2 separate regions of the Homo sapiens genome follow, and region 1 is linked to region 2. The links are contacts of gene promoters, found by promoter capture Hi-C in blood cells and fetal thymus (Javierre and others, 2016). All regions are on one chromosome and are shown on one strand. The core of a region is centred on a gene start or on the middle of the fragment in contact, and the rest is flanking DNA. Distances in the headings are between cores, read along the strand shown.

Evidence for each region. Contacts are between HindIII fragments. The CHiCAGO score rates a contact against its expected background, and 5 or more counts as called.
Region 1: a fragment that was not itself captured here is called in contact with the fragment with the promoter of B3GALT2 in region 2 in 1 of 17 cell types (total B cells); the score reaches 5.1 in total B cells.

The regions. Positions count from the first base shown.
Region 1 is chr1:193,754,975-193,757,700 of GRCh38, reverse strand. The region is part of intron 3 of LOC124904475 (a long non-coding RNA gene); the gene reads right to left. It also overlaps the pseudogene RPL23AP22. Among named protein-coding and RNA genes, the nearest start is that of LINC01031, 450 kb to the right of the region's middle. The HindIII fragment of the contact is 366 bases long and covers 1,199-1,564 here.
Region 2 is chr1:193,185,290-193,188,311 of GRCh38, reverse strand. B3GALT2 (beta-1,3-galactosyltransferase 2) reads left to right here and starts at 1,699. Exons shown (of 2, transcript NM_003783.3): 1 at 1,699-2,293. All of the region lies in intron 10 of CDC73 (cell division cycle 73), which reads right to left. The HindIII fragment of the contact is 388 bases long and covers 1,591-1,978 here.

The DNA.
Region 1 (2,726 bases), core at 132-2,631, 570 kb before region 2:
TGGATAGTGTTATTCAAATCTTCCATATTCTTACTTTACAATACTAGCTCTATCAATAACAGAAAAAGATGAGTGCTGAAATTTTCAATTATCATTGTAAATTTGTCTTATTTCTTCTTTCAGTTCTATTGGGTTTTATTTAGAATTACTACTGTTTCTATATCATTTTGTAGCTCTGTTATTAGGTAAATACTCACTTAAGACTTTATGTCTTCTTGATAAAGTGACCCTTTCATCATTATGAAACCTCTTTTTATTCCTGGTGAGATCATTGTAATATCAACATGATACATATTTTTCTATCTTTTAAAATTTCCACTTATCTGTTTTTATATTTAAATTGCATATTTTTCAGTAGTAAGTAGTTAGAGCTTGTCTTTATTCTGACAGTCTCTGACTTTGAACTGAAATATCTAGGGCAGTTTTTCACAAGGTGGTGCCAAAGCTGAAGAAGGCAGCTCCTGCCCCTCCCAAAGCTCAGGCCGAAGCGAAGCCTTTGAAAGCCGAAAAGGCAGTACTCAAAGATATCCACAGCCACACAGAAAAAGATATGCACATCACCTACCTTCCAGTGGCCCAAGACACTATGGCTTGGGAGGAACCCTAAATATCCTTGGAAGAGTGCCCCCAGGAGAAACAAGCTTGACCACTATGCCATTACCAAGTCCCCCTGACCACTGAATTAGCTATGAAGAAGAAAGAAGACAACACACTTGTGTTCATTATGAATGATAAAGCCAACAAGCACCAGATCAAACAAGCTGTGAAGAAGTTCTATGACATTAATGTAGCCAAGGTCAACATGCTAATCAGCCTGAGGGAGAGAAGGCTTCTGTTCAACTGGTTCCTTACAATGCTTTGAATGTTGTGAACAAAATTGGGATCATGAATTTTATATAATATATATATTATATAAATATATTATATAAATTTTAATATATATTTATATTAAATATATATTTATATTTAATATAAATATATATTATATATAGTATATATAGTATAGACCATGGGAAAATTAATAATTTATATATAATATGTAATATTTACAGGCAATTTATTTCATGTAATTATTAAATAGTTGAAATCTACATCTTCTGTTTCTATTTGTCATATGTGGTTTTTTCCTTCCCTCTCCCATTTTCCTGCCACCTTCTGAATTGTCCTATAGCATTCAATTTTACTTCCACCAAAAGCTTATTCATCTTTTAATTATTTTCAGTTGTTCTAAAGTCACCGTATGCAACTGATCACATTCTACCTTGAAAGAATATACCACTTCTCATATACTGTAAGACAGAATACTTCAATTTTGCTTCTTTTATCCTTTGTGATACTGTTACCACAGTCTTTACTTTTATAAATGTTACACTGTTGTTTTTACTTCAACTATTCAATTATCTTTTAAAGGATTTTAATTGAATATTTCCAGTGCTTTTTATTCTTTTGCGTAAATCTAAGTGTCCACCTGGTATCATTTGTCTTCAACCTGAGGTCCCTTTAATGTTATTTCAAGTATACTTCTGCTAAAAATGAATTTTCTCAGATTTTGTGTACAAAAGCTTTTGACTTCTTATTGAATAGTATTTCCATGAGATATAGAATTCTAGAATAATATATTTTTTCTTTCTATGAAGATATGATTACATTGTTTTTTAACTTGCAGTTTTTCTGAAGTGCAGTCTGCATTTTTTTAAAATCTTGGTTCCGTAATTTTTTTTTTTTTACTTCTAACTACTTTAAAAATTTTTCCTTCTGCTTACTGATTTCTAGCACTTTGAGTAGGATGAACCTTAGTATAATTTTCTTAGTGTTTGTGCTGCTTGAGATTCTTTGGGAAGCTCAGATTTAGGGGCGTATAATTCTCACAAATTTAGGAAAATGTTGGCCACTATTTCTTTAAATATGTTTTTCTGTCTCTTCTCTCTCCTCTCTCGGGCAATCTAATCACATACATGTAAGACTGCTTGATATTGTAACACAGACTACTCGGCTTCTGTTTATTTTTTCAATTTTTCCCCCTCTGTGCTTGAGTTTAGATAGTTCCTATTGCTGTGTTTTCAAGTTCATCAATCCTTTCTTCTGCAGTTTCTAATCAGCTGCTATTTTCAAACACTGCCTTTTTAAAAATTTTTAACTATTGCATTTAAGTTTGTTTTAAAGTTACAGATTGATAATTCCATCAACTCTGTTATTACTAGATCTGTTTACTGTAATAGATTTTTCTTAATTATGAATCACATTTTATAGCAATTACTCATATCTGTAAATTTTTATTGGAAGCTGTACATTATGAATAGTAAGACAGGATATTTTTGTCTCTTTTGAAGGTGTTAAAGTTCATTTTTTCAGGCAGTTAAGTGTTGATAGAAAAAAAATTCTGCATGGAAAATGTTCTGGTACAGTATTCCCAAATGGTTGCAAACATATTAAATTTAACTGTTGGTTCTGCTATCCCCCACCAGATGGCTCTACCAAATTTAATGCTATTCCCTCTAACCTTACCAAGAAATTTACAGGAGACAGCAAGGGATGGCCAAACATCCTGTATCTCCTACACAAATTACCTGCTAACACCTCCAGATGTTTTCCCTATCCTCATTTTGATGGCCTTAGATCAGCCTTCATACATTTTTTGTCATATTCTGGCTAATAATCAGAATTAAATATAAAATAGACCCAATTCAAAAATCATAATGCATCTTTGTTATTTCTAACAGCTACCC
Region 2 (3,022 bases), core at 450-2,949:
CTTGGCCTCTATTCTTATCAGTATTTATCTGACATTTGGACTATTTTACAACTCCAGGCACTGGTTCTGCATCTTTTAAGTGGGTATTACAATAATAAAATTATTAGAAAAGAGCCATTTGCATAACAGCTCAAGTAAGCTTAGCACGCAATCTGATTTTCAGTAAATACTCCATAAATGGTCATTGTGGCTAGCTTCATAGTCAAATCCTATGTAAAGAATCACTGATAAATAAATACTGATCTACAAAAACACATCTGTACTTCTGGAAAATAAGTTATTTTAAGTAAGTTCTTAAGCATTACTCTGTTAACTAGTAAACTAATTTTAAAAACAAAACGGTAGTGAGTGAGAATTGCAGTATGGGTGGATATAGACTACAAGGAAGTTGGGTTTTAGTCCTCTCCTTCAAACTTAACTAGGAAAAGTCAAAGCTCAGTCTAGGCTTTAGGTTTCCTATTTATAAAATTCTTTTTTTTCTTTAACGATCCTTCTAACATTTCTAATACAGTGGGGTTCTTAAAACTACAAAGCACATTTCATCAGCAAAGCTCAAAAATATGTGGACAAAATTTTTTTTAATATCAGAGAAAACAAATTCATATTCATTTGAAATAGCATATATTAATGGTGGAGGCAGTGAGATGAAGAATATGTATATAACTGTTAACCTTTAGCTTAAGCTCCAAAACTATAACTTTCTAGGACTGAATTACTGTCCCTAGAGTCACAGAGGAAAAACTGATAATAAAGGCTTTTTACTACAACAAAAAATTTAAAAAAACCTTCCCTACTGCTCTGCAGTAAGAAAAGAAGGTGCCAGCCCCAGAAACTAACCATATTAGAAAAATCTCAGTGAGTGTGTAGTGTTAATAAAATCTGCCTCATGGCAAGTTATTAAATCTTTCTGAAACATTAGAATAAGTAAACATAATTAGTAAAATCTCATTACCCCCAGATCCTGTACAAGTGTGCTATATCTATTACATCATTTTACTGAATTCTACGATACATGTAATTTTAAAGGGAAGGAAAAATAAATAAAAAATAAATGACAACATTAAAAAGTGATTTAAAATAAAGTTTTCTGCCATCAAGAACACCAAAAACCACATAAGAGCAAAAAAGAAGTGGGCTGTATCACATCATGCATTAGTAAAGTAATCCAAGACAGCTTATTTATACAAACCCCAGAAAACGGGGGGGGGGATCTAAATTACAAAGATACATGGTTTCAATAGAAACCATAGGTCTTAACTACATATTAGTAAAAAATCAAGAGCAATTTGAAAGCAGAGAAAAAAAACTTCAAGAAGAGAATGCACTGAAGGGGTTAAATTACACCAACTTACACACAAAAGCTTATACTGCTTACACCCTACAAAAGCATGTAAGAAACATGAAAACCAACATCTAACACAGAAAACACTTAGAAAGCCTGTACTTAAGAATAAAGTTAAAAAAGGAAGTAAGCTGGAAAAAATAAAATCATAACCATTTCATAATCATCACATTTTCAAATTATTCACTCATCACTACACTTGCATTCAACATATATAATTTATCACATAAAAGCAAAATCTCTAAGCTTCTCCCTACCTTAGGTTTTTAGTCAAAATGAATGCAAACAATCACGTGGGATTCAGCCAAGCAGTGACGTTAAATTCTGCTCTGTCAGAGAGAGCATCTGTCAAGCCCACATTTAAACTGCTGCCTGCCTGTGCAGCAGCTGAGGAACCGTGGATTTCATATTATAGACTAAAACCCCATTAAAACTGCTCAAAATCCTTCCTGCAGCTGCCAGGCAACAACGAAAGAAGAGAGGTAAATCCTATTCTTTTCCAATACAACTGAAGCACTACATTTTAGCTCTGGCTGCTTTACATTGCAGCTCAGTGTTATTAGTAGAAATATGGATACTGAGACGAGAACACAGCACTGCATTGTCCAGCCAGGAAAATAGCAGATGTAAAAAGCTTCAATGCATCAACTGTCGGGAAGAGTCAACAGTGCTACAAGCAGAACGGGCAACTACAGCTCTTTTGTTTAACGAAAGAGAGAAAATGAAAGAAAGGGAAAATTTCAGAAGACTAGGACCCATATGAACAAGGAGGGTAACTCGAAGACAAGCAGACAGATGGACACTTTGGATACTGTGAAAAGCAATCGCAGGAGGCAGACTGTTGGGGGATGTGCGCATGTTCGATAGCATCTTTTTTGCTGAAGTGATGGCGTGCCAAAAGTATTTTCAGTGGGCATAATCCTCTTCACATAAATGGCCTGACCAAGGAAGGTATGTCAATATCTTGTGTATGATAGTCATTTAAATGTGTTACCTTTTTATAGCCCTGGAGGCACTAATACCTGATAAGCAAGTTCATACAGCTCACTGCCCTTGAAACTATGAAAAGGTTTCTTAATATCTGATTTTAAAATTTGTCATTGTTTAGAAGACAAGCTGTCACTGCTTTATGCAGCTAAATATGTAGCTTGGAGTAATTCTGGGTAATAGACATCAGAGGGAAAAGGCAAATAAGAAGAAGATGTGTTTAAAGGATTCCTTAAGAAATTAAACTTAAAAAAAAATCTGTAGCCCTTTACAAAAAACACAGCAATATTCTATCAAATTAGGTCAAACTGAATCCTTATCTAGTAAATTAAATGCTCTCTTAAAAATGGCTATCAAAAGACACAATGCAGTGAAATTTCATTAAATAGTAGCAAGGAAAACCTTAAGAGTTTTTTTTTCAAAGTCCTTTTAAAACAAAACCTTAATATGTAACAGCTTTTAGTAACAAAATCTTCCCCAACATCTCCCTAAATGAAGATAATGAACACAACCAAAGAGAGTATCAACAAATTTTAAATATTACCAAGCTACAAGAAGATACTAAAAGGAAAGCATTAACATAAGATCACATAAGGTAGTGTGAGTTTATGCATAACCCCACAATAGAGCCTCGTGTTATTATAGTGACCATGAATAGAACTTTAAACAAAGGGACATCAATAGTGGCTTTAA